Linked DNA regions of Homo sapiens: regions 2 and 3 are each linked to region 1. The links are contacts of gene promoters, found by promoter capture Hi-C in human tissues and cell types (Jung and others, 2019). All regions are on one chromosome and are shown on one strand. The core of a region is centred on a gene start or on the middle of the fragment in contact, and the rest is flanking DNA. Distances in the headings are between cores, read along the strand shown.

What was found. Contacts are between HindIII fragments. The study calls those that stand out against the background at their distance.
Region 2: a fragment that was not itself captured here is called in contact with the fragment with the promoter of KCNC1 in region 1 in 2 of the 25 tissues and cell types used here (lymphoblastoid cells and pancreas).
Region 3: a contact is called between a fragment that was not itself captured here and the fragment with the promoter of KCNC1 in region 1, in 3 of the 25 tissues and cell types used here (aorta, dorsolateral prefrontal cortex and pancreas).

Annotation. Positions count from the first base shown.
Region 1 is chr11:17,732,461-17,736,030 of GRCh38, reverse strand. KCNC1 (potassium voltage-gated channel subfamily C member 1) reads right to left here and starts at 1,250. Exons shown (of 4, transcript NM_001112741.2): 1 at 1-1,250. The coding sequence starts at 28. RefSeq lists a silencer at 1,311-1,410. The HindIII fragment of the contact is 8,281 bases long and covers 1-3,570 here.
Region 2 is chr11:17,653,192-17,656,761 of GRCh38, reverse strand. No RefSeq gene overlaps it. Among named protein-coding and RNA genes, the nearest start is that of LINC02729, 42 kb to the left of the region's middle. The HindIII fragment of the contact is 4,261 bases long and covers 1-3,570 here.
Region 3 is chr11:17,807,138-17,810,707 of GRCh38, reverse strand. All of the region lies in intron 10 of SERGEF (secretion regulating guanine nucleotide exchange factor), which reads left to right. Among named protein-coding and RNA genes, the nearest start is that of KCNC1, 74 kb to the right of the region's middle. The HindIII fragment of the contact is 5,619 bases long and covers 1-3,570 here.

The DNA.
Region 1 (3,570 bases), core at 1-2,500:
TGCGCTCGCTCTCGTCCCCTTGGCCCATCGCGGCGCCCCCTTAGGCATGGCGCGGCCCAGCGACACCCATGGGAGCGGCCGCCAGGGGGAGTTGGCGCCGGGGAGGGGGGCGCGCGCCCTCTTCCCCCCTCCCCCCAGCCGTCGGGGGGAACAGAGGCCTGCGGCTCTGGCCACCCCAACGAGCGAGCCAAGCCTCTCCGGGCGCTTTGTCGGGTGCCGGTCCAGGGGAATGTGCGCGGGATCCCAGGGGTCTCTAGGAGCCAGATGTGGGAGGGAGCTGGTCCGGCAGCGGAGGAGGCAGAGGAGGAAAGAAGGGAGGGAGAAAGGGAGGGAGAAAGGGAGGGAGGGAGGGAGTGAGGGGGAAAGAGGGAGGGGGGCGGGCTCAGCAGCGAGCCCCGGGAGGTGGGGAAAATGGGTTGGGGGGCCGGGCTCCCGTCCCCATCTCCGCGGGAAAATGGAGAAATCGGCACAAAGCTTTTGGGGGAAAGGTCAGCCGCTCCCGGGGCCGGACTAGAGGCCAGCCCCCAGGAGGGGGAGGGGAGGAGACAGGGCCGGGAAATTCGCGCTCCTCTGTGAGGTGGTCGCCGCGGCGCGCTCTCGGCGCGGGGGAGATGGATGCCGCCTGCCTTCCTCCCTGCGTGGCCGGGCTGCAGCTCGGGACGCAGGGCGGGCTCCGGCCCCCTCCCTCTCTCCTTGCTTGGCTGCCTGCTCCCCCCGGCGGCGGGCCCGCCTGCCCGCCCGCCCTCCTCGTTCCTTCTCCCCGCCTCCTGGAGGAGATGGCGGGCCCCCTGGGCAGGGGCACCCGGGGTGTTGCTCGTGCGGCTAACGCCGAGCGCTGCTCTCCGTGAGCCCGGGCTCGAGCTGGGGTTCCGCTGGGCTGCGCTCGGACTTGGGCTCCCGCGGCGGTGCTGAAGGGACAGCTCCCGGCGGTCGCGGAGCTGCACGGGGCCAGGCGGGGGTTCTCCTGGCTGGGTTTGATTTGCGGGGCCGGCGGGCACTGGCTCCGGTGCCTCTGCGCCCCGCACTCCGCTCCTCGCTTCGGGCAGGCGGTGGGCGCTGCCGGCCGAGACGGGGGCTGCGGAGGTCGGGCGGGGAGGCGGGGGTGGCGGGTCCGGGCGCGGCGAGGTGAGGCCAGCGAGGCCGGTGAGGCGAGGCGCGGAGCGGCCGCTGCCGCCGCCGCCGCGACGCTGCTGCCGCCCGGGCTGCTGCTCCGCTTGCTGCTCGCCCGTCGCCTGCTCGTTCGCGCGGTCCGCGTCCAGCCCGCCGCTCTCCGGACACGGGCACACGGCGCGCGCAGCCGCACTCGCCCCCGGAGGAAGGCGCCGCGCTGGGTCCTAAAAAGCCCTGATTCCGCGCCCCCCTCCCAGCCCCGCACCGAGCCCGGCCTCCCTCAACCTCGGCGCTGGGGGCGCCCGCCCCGCGCGGCTCCTGCTGCTCCCGGGGGACCCGCCCACGGTCCGCCCTCGGGGAACGCCACTCCAGGGGCGGGGGCTCCGAGAGACGTCTGGGCCCGCGCCCCCGGGTCAGACTGAGGTGAGAAGGGCGTTGGCACCCTCCCCTTGCCTTCCAAACCAGGGACCATCTGATCCCTGGTGAGACAAAGCTCTCCCGGAGTTTTGTCATCAGAGACACCCTGGCCCGGACCAGTGCTGACCGCTCCAAGGAATCCTTTAATACCGACCCTTCTCGCGGAACCTGGAGGCCCCATGTTCCTTCCATGGGTAATGTCTTGCATGAACCCCAACACACACACACACACACACACACCACGTTATCCTCTACGCCCTCCACTAACAATCAATCCTGGACCCCTATTAACCCCTTTGGACTCCTTACTGACCCTGGGCCCTTTATAGCTTCAGACAGAGGGAGTCTCCCATGAGTGCCACATCCATCCAAGCTCACGGACTCTCCCACACTAACCCTGGATCCCTAGGTGGAGACCCCTTATGAAAAGGACCTTCTGCCCTCAGAGGTCAGAAGCAGCAACTGCTCGTAGTTTCCCTGAGCACTGACACCCCCACCCCGCACTTCCTAGGGCTTCAACTGCCCTGGGTGATAAGCTGGTGTTATGTCTGGGAGCTGGGTGGGAGCTGCTGCTTGCTGTGATTCCTCCATCTTCACAGTTGGTCCTGGGGGTGGGAGTTCCAGTTTGAACCTCAAAGCCTTCCTGGCCCATGCCTGCTGCTAGTGCCTTGGTTTACTCAGTAAAGCAATCACTCCTTTACTCCTTACTTGTTTCAGGATCCGTCCCAGGCACAAGGACACAAGAGATGAATCTGACCCAGCCTCTGGCCTTGAGAAGCTCCCAGCCTTCTGGGGAGGTGGCCAGGTGGGCCTAGGCAGGACTGGGGAGGTCAGGCCCGTCTCCAGGGGTGGCTGGGGTGGGAAAGAGGCTTATTGATCCCAGCTCAACCCAATCGAACACAGGATGCCTGGGCAAAGGGCGATTTAATTAAGAAGATATGAGGCTTTTATTACTGCTGGCACTTTCTAACTGTGCAGACAGCTGTCCCTCTACCCTGACCCACAGATGCCGTTGTGAGCCTGGGGACAAAGCTGTGCCACAGACATCGCTCTCCTTACTTGGCCAGGGGAATCCCAATCTAGCCACAGGAAAATCTGTGTGTGGTGGGTAAAAGGCTTGAAGGGGTGGAGAGGGGCAGGGCAAGGATTGACAGATGGGAATAGGACAAGGGGAGAGACAGAGAGGCTAAATTAAGTCAGAAATGGGCAGAGTTGGGCAGAGACAAAGAGAGGGTTGGATTTTGGGGCCTGCATGGCACCTCCTCCCTCCAGATATTGATCTGTGTGATTCCTCTAAATAGGAGCTGTTTCCCCTTCAATCTCAGAGTAATGCAGGGATGAGAGTGATTTTGAGTGTCCCTTTCACCCTGACCAGTGTGAGTCCCCATCTCCTAACCACAAGGAAGCCTGGCCTGGTGTGGCCCGGCCTGGTGTGGCCCATCCTGGCCCATATTCAGATCCCCGGGACATGGGTTCTCAGGAAATTCTGTCCCAACATTGGTAGAAGATGAAATAGAAATGGAGAATCCAGAAGGAAGAGAAAAAGGTGGACACAGAGGCAGACACATACACACACACACACACACACACACACACACACACACACACACACACACAGCTGGGAGAAATCAAGATGGGGAGAGACAAGAAAGCAGCCTCTCCAAACCTTCCTTTCTTTCTACCCAGATGTCCAGCCCCTCTTCTCACCCAAGAATCTTCTGGGATTCTACTAGCCATAGGGTTCCAGGACTTCACCTCTCTCTTCACCTGCAGAACCACACGGGATCAGAGTATGGCTCCTGATCTTCTCCATAGCTCATCTGATCTCCATAAAAGGACCATCAGCTCCTCCAGGGCTTCTTGTTTGCTTCCCTCCAGAGTGCCCAGAATACAGTAGATCCTCACTAAGGTCCAGATGATTTGAGAAAGGCTAGGAGAGAGGCTGGGATCCTAGAACCCAAGTGGCAGAGACTGTGGGAGTCTGGAACACCTAATGGAGACCAAGTCAGGAGGAGGGACTTACCCAGGGTTTTTTAGGGAATC
Region 2 (3,570 bases), core at 758-3,257, 80 kb after region 1:
TCTCACTCTGTCGCCCAGGCTGGAGGGCAGTGGCACCATCTTAGTTCACTGCAGCCTCCTGGGTTCAAACAATTCTCCTGCCTTGGCCTCTCAAGTAGCTGGGATTACAGGTGTCCACCACCACACTCAGCTAATCTGTATTTTTAGTAGAGACAGGCTTTTGCCATGTTGCCCAGGTTGATCTTGAACTCCTGACCTCAAGTGATCCACCCACCTTAGCCTCCCAAAGAGTTGGGATTACAGGCGTGAGCCACCTGTTCCTGGCCATCACCCTGTAATTCTTTTTTTTTTTTTTTTTTTTGAGATGGAGTCTCACTCTGTCACCCAGGATGGAGTGAGTGCAGTTGTGCCATCTTGGCTCACTGCAACCTCTGCTTCCCAGGTTCAGCCTGGGAGCCTGCCTCAGCCTCCTGAGTAGCTGGGATTACAGGTGAGTGCCACAACGCCTGGCTAATTTTTGTATTTTCAGTAGAGACAGGGTTTCCTCATGTTGGCCAGGCTGGTCTCGAACTCCTGACCTCAAGTGATCCACCCACCTTGGCCTCCCAAAGTGCTGGGATTACAGGCATGAGCCACCACGCCTGGCCCCTGTAATTCATTTTGGAAAGTTCCTCTTGTTACATCTTCAAGTTCACTGATCTTTTATTTGGCACTCTTTAATCTGTTGTTAATCTCATTTCACTTAAAACTTTATATTTTCATCTCTAGACTATTTTATTTTTTTAAATATCTCCCGTTTCTGTCTTCATTATGCTTATGTTTTTCTTTACATTCTTAAGCATATGTATAATAGCTACTTAAAAGCCCTTGTTTGCTAATATCATCATCTTTGTCATTTCTAGGTCTGTTTCTATTGACTGTTTTTTTCTCCTTGTTATGGGTCACGTTTTCCAGATGCTTTGCATGTCTAGTAATTTTAATTGGATTCTAGGCATTATTAATAGTATGTTGCTGAATGTCTGTATTTTTTCCCTTAAAGAATATTTAGACTTTCTTATGTCTTATAGCTACTGTGTGTCAGCATGGTCAATTTGAGGCTTTTTTCAAAGCTTAATTAGGGCTTCTTTAGGGTAGCCTTTACTCTAGGTGTAGTTTAATCCTTCTTCTAAAGTATGACCATTTCTGGAAGCTCAATTAAGTCCCGGGATGTTCAGTGAGGTCTTTTCACTTTGGCTGGTAAGAAATGTAATGTCTCTCAGCTCTGCAAAAGCTCCAAGAATTTCTCAGTTTACAATTACCCACTGGTTCTTCACCTGTCTTTATGGATATTCAGCCTACACATGTGCACCTTAATGTTCAACCACAGCCTTAATATATGCAACTTTCTGGAGTTCTTTTTCTACATGGCTCCCTCATCTCTGGTATTCTGCCCCACATATTTCAGTTGCCTCAGACTGCCTGAATTTGATCTGTCTTCAACTCAGCGAGACCACCCTGCTCTGCTGGGACATGCCCTTCCCTGTCTCTTGTTCCAGAAAATTATCCAGGCAGAATTTGGAACTTTCTAGTAAGATTTATTAATTCTTCACCTATTTCCCTTCTCTGCGGGATCCTAGCCTTGCACTGCCTGTTGCCCACGTCTGGAAACATGTATGTCATGTATTTTCACCAATTTTCTAGTTGTTTATAATTGCAGGGTAGGTTGAATACCAGGTACTCTGTGTGATGGAAGTAGAAGTTATATATGGTTTTAATTTCTAGAAACTTTTTTTTCTGATTGTACTTTATTAGCCTCCTATTTTTTAGATACAATATCCTCATGGATCATCCTGGGAATATTAATTAGAATACTGTTCATGCTTTTCCTCTTCCTTGAATTGATTGACTTTTCATTGAGGGTAAGTTACCCTGCCATTTCAACTTGGGCACCATTTTGCCATTGTCCATTCTTTTCAAATAATGAGTTTTAACTGGCTGGTAATATGTATAATAAAATTCTGGATTAATTAGAATTGGTACTGTGAGGGTTTTCTTAGCAGCTATGTAGGCAAGTGGCTGGAGGAGACATACCATAACCATTCACTCATAGTTGATGGTGATTTCTATGGTCACGGTCCTCTGATGGTGGAATCACAGGGATATTTACCAAAAATGATCTCCTCTAATCTTCATGTATTTCTCACAGTTATTGTAATTACTGTTCCAACTTTACAGTTGAGGAAACTGAAATTCAGGGAGGTTCAGTAATTTGCTAACATCACAGAACTCGTGAGTAAAGCAACCAGGATTAGAGTCTGGACCATCTTTCTACCTATACACTATGCTGCCTCCCATTTGCTTTATAACTTCAAGAAATTTCCTATTTCTGACCTATTGGTGGAACTGTTTCATGTTTTCCGGTACAGGCACAGATATTTTCTAGTGTTAAAATTTCTTTTGTTTTTTTCATCTGGCTTTTGTGAGTATTTTGAGAGTATTCATGACCTTAGTTTGTGTTTTCTCTTAATCTTAAGACTCCAGCCCACATTCTTTCCATATTATAAACTATGTCCTTAAGTTAAGTTCCTCTTTAAGTTAAAGCCCTCAGTGGGACAACTGAGAAAAAGGAAAAGATATTTTTGAGGGACTTCATATATACTTTGTAAAATAAAATTAAATGTTCATAAATTTTACAAATACATTCCTATCAACAGTGCATCAAAATGCCAGCTACTCCATGGGGTGTAGTTTTTAATTGGTGTCTCTGGAAGCCCCAAACTTTTAAGATGTTTAATGGTGGAATTTGAGGCACAGTGACACATGGGCAGAGGAGATATTTTTGGGAGCAATTTCTGCCCTGTACCTCCCAAATCCCTCACAGACCCCCTTTCTTCTCGGGCAGCCCCTCCTGCACATGCTGGGGGCAGGGCTTGGGCTTAGGGCACCTCTGCCAGGATCCCACTGATCTATGTTCTTGCCTGACACTCAGCAGCTGTCGTGGAGGCGTGGGCTGCAGGCGCTGTTCCCCATGGGCCGTGTGCAGGCCGCAGGCCGGGGAGCCTTTCCCGCCTAATCCGAGGGGTGCTGGCAGTGGGGAGGGAGACAGCTGGGTGTAACTGATCTGCAAAGGAATGGAATGGTGCAGGCCCCCCAGCACTGGGCTGGGCCGTCTGCAGGCTGCCTGTCCCAGCTGCTGAGCCTTAACCCTTCCCTCTCTTATTTCTTTCTCCCCTCCATTGGGAAGTTGATGTCACCCAGCTTAGCCAAGTCCCGGGAAACCCCTTGAGAAATAAGCTTCCCTAGCTGGGTATCTACACCTTGAAAAGGATCCAGCTAGGTGATAGTTTCTGCTGGGGGGCTTGGGTCCTACCTGGGAACTTCCTGTCTCAGATAGAGACAGGGCTTTTGGAAGGCCTAGTGGGCGACTCAGATAGTAGAGGCTGTAAGGTCAGCACAGGGAGGCCCACCCTAGGTTGGAGCTCAGGGAAGATTCTCTGGCAGAGGCAATGGAATGGGCACTCGGTTTGGAGTCTGGCGCTGCCTCCACCATTGCTCACTTTGCAGTGAGACTCTGGGTGAGTCACTGTCATTCCCTGGGATCAGTTTCCTAATCCTGAAAAGGAGGAGTTTAAAGATATTCCTAAAGGTTTA
Region 3 (3,570 bases), core at 760-3,259, 74 kb before region 1:
TGCTAAGCACAGTGGAGGATAAAGAGATACAAAAGTCATCGTCCTCACAGACAGTCTCACAATCTGTGACATGGACAGGTGAAATAAAGAACTACAAAGTTCATGGGAAGCTCATCAAGGGAATGCTATGGACTTGGGTTCTAGGCATAGCCCTTATTCTGTCTTCTCCAGGCCCCAGTTTTCTGTTCGGTAGAATTTTGAGGGTTGGGCCAATGATCTGTAGATGCCCTTGCTGCTCTGAAATTTAACTATAGCTCAGTGTAGGCATGATTGTTGTAGACATTTTAGAGGAAGGAGGACTTGAGCTGAGCCTTGAAGGCTAGGCTAGGATTTGGATTAGCCCAGGATAAGGGCATTCCTGATTGCGGGATGGGGAGGTGTGAGGATAGACAGATCCCAGGCTGAGGGCAGAGTGTGGGAAGCCCTTCTGACCAGAGCACAGGGTTTGTGTGGGATACAAGAAGTGAGAGAAATATCAGAGCAGGCAGCTGTTGCCTTCCATCTGAGGGCCCTAATCCTCAGGGGCTTGGGGCCACCCCAGTGATACCTAAGGACAGAGAAATAAGGCAGGTTAGAACCAGGGCATTCTCCCTAAATGGGGACCCTAGTCTGATGCATATCATGACAGAAGACCTCCACCAAGAATACACTAGGGTCAAAGAAAGAGAGGCCACTTCTCTCCAGGTCCTTTCCTTCTCACTCCAACCAGCAGGTACTAGGTTGGTAGGAGCAGGGCACAGTGTGGGAGAATAAATCTTCCTGGGACAGCTGCCCTTGTTTCATGGTCTGTTCCTCCCCAAATGTTTTCCTGAACTCAGGGTGACAAGGGATATTTTGGCCATATCCTTGGGGTTGGATTCTAGATTCATCTACCAGGACTGTGAATCAAGGAATCACATATCCTAGACCTGGTTGCGACTTCCATCCTCCTAGTCTCCTGGCTAAGGCTATCTGACTCCTCTCACCCCTCTGTACCCACAGCTTCACAGATGCCAAGTCCTCTTGGTCCCACCTCTTTGCTTTCTCTCCGTCCTGCCCTCTTCTGCGTCCCACTGCCACTGAGACAGCTCAGGCTTTGTTTGTCCTCCTCCTCTTAGACTTTGCCTCCACCTCCAAATGATCTCCCTTAGACCCTCCTTCCCACTCAGTCTAAGTGTTTAGAAAAGTGCCTGGCATCGTGTGAGTGCATCCTAAATGTGATCTGTCATGATGGCAAGAACAATATTGATGATTGTTATTATGCCAGATTTTGCCTCTGAGGCACAGATCTGATTCTGCTACTCTGTTGTCCAAAAGCCTTAGTGGCTTCCAATTGGCTATGAAATAAAGTCCAAAATCTTTAGTCAGGCTTTTTGAGGATTATATTTCTTGAGCCATCTGCCATATGCCCCGTACTTATCATCCCAAATTTCTTTCCTTCTGCTATGTTTTGCACCACGTCTTCTTCCACCAAGTGGAACTACCACCATTATCTTTGCAATCCCCTCCTTCCCCCAGCTAGGTCTTTGTTCCCACTGTTCTATCTACTTAGAATGCTCTTTCTTCCCTCTCCCCTAACTTTTCTTCTTCCTCCAGGAAGTCTCTTCTGATCCCTCAGATTATTTATTCCTTGCTAGCAGGTGCCATGAATGGTTCATTTTATATCCCTTATGATATCTACCAAGTAAGACAAAATAGACATTTTATGAATGACTGGAAAGACCGGGTTTAGCCCCCTATTTTCAAGGAACCTAGAGTTTGAATTAGGGAGTTGTCAGGACTTGTCCAGCCAAACCCCAATACCTATATATTCCTTTGGAGAGATCCAGAAGTTCTCTAATGGACAAGTATTCAGTTAGCTGGCTCCACATGGTCATGACCCTATAAAGTGTATACAAGCCAATTGGCTCCTCTTACAGCAAACTGGCAGGAAAGGGTAGAAATATGGGGAATACTAGCTACGAAGTTGGCCCCTGCTGGGTTGAGATAGGGATCAGTCATACAAGGTGTAGGGGCCTATATTATCCTGGAAATGTCACTATCCTGGAGGGCCCATTTGTGACCAGGGGTCTGACAGCAAGCGTCTTAAGGTAATTATCATTGGGTGACATGGCTTGGATGTTTGTCCCCTCCAAATCTCGTGTTGAAATGTGATTTCCAATGTTGGAGGTGGGGCCTGTTGGCAAGTGATTGGATCATGAGGGCAGATCCCTCTTGAGTGGTTTTGTATCATCTCCTTGGTTATAAGTGAGTTCTCTTTCTGAGTTCATGTGTGATTTGGTTGTTTAAAAGCGCATGGCACTTCCCCCTGCTCGCTCTTTTGCTCCTGCTTTCACCATGCAATGTGCCTGCTCCCCCTTTGCCTTCCACCATGATTGGAAGCTTCCTGAGGCCCTCACCAGAAACAGATGCTGGCACCACGCTTCCTGTAGAGCCTGCAGAACTGTGAGCCAATTAAACCTCTTTTCTTTATAAATTATCCAGCCTCAGGCATTTCTTTGTAGCGACACAAGCACGGACTAATACATTGCACATTCACATTCCAAGGGGCCCAAGCCAGGCAGCAACTTGGAGGACAGATAAGAAGTTCAGGCCCTTGGTAGTGGGATGTCAGGAGAGCCTAGGCAGAGTGTGAGGGTCCTGCTCAGCCAGTAAGAGTTTGACTCAGGCCTTTAGCCCCAAGAAACTCTCAGATTAGGGGACACTAATCTTGTGGCTGCACATTCTAGGGGGTCAGCAGGGCTATCAAAGGGAAATGGGCTCTCTTCCTGGGTCAGGACTGACTTAGAAATTGGCATGTTCTCAATTTGGAAACACCTTGTTCTGGTCTTCATTTCCCTTAAGTGGGCAGGACTGGGGGAGGCAATGGCTGCCATATAGCTAGGCTCAGATATGAGTCCTGCCTCCCCTCCTGGTTCACAGCCTGGCTTACCAGGCCCTTGCTTCCATTTCAAAGTCAAGTCATGATCATGCCACCCTGTAGGCCACCATTTGGAAAGGCCAATCCCAGGCTGACACTCATTGCCTGTAAATGACGTGGAATTAGGGTAATCAGTGGCTCCTAATTCCCCAACAAATGCAAGTGCTGTGCTAATTGCCAGGGTCCACGCCGGCAGATCCCTGGTTGGCGGCATCAAACAAGAGAAGTGGTAATTTGGGGGCTGGAGTTGGGGACAGCCTGCTTCGTTGGCTGAGCCAGCTAAAAACCGCATTACCCCCTGGGTGAGCCACAGTGCAGACAGCCAGGGCCTGGCTTCCTTATCAGTAAAGGGACCAGGTGAGTGGCCCAAAGTATGTTTATAGGAGCTGAACCTTGGCACCAGTGCTCAGCAGTTGCTTGTCCATTAATGGGTTGTGTTGTTGTTGCATGGGTTTTGGTGAATTTTTTTTGTGGGGGGGGAGTTCTTTGAGGAAGATTCCACAAGCAGCCTGGCATGGCACTGCCGGGGCAGCTCATCAGGGATAAAGCATTCCGAACCTTGGTCTGCTGTTACCATGGCAGCATCACATGTCCGGACATTCCAGGCAACCCTTACTGGCATCTGCTACTGTGACAGATTCAGATGGAGAAGGAACACTGCTCTTCTCCAT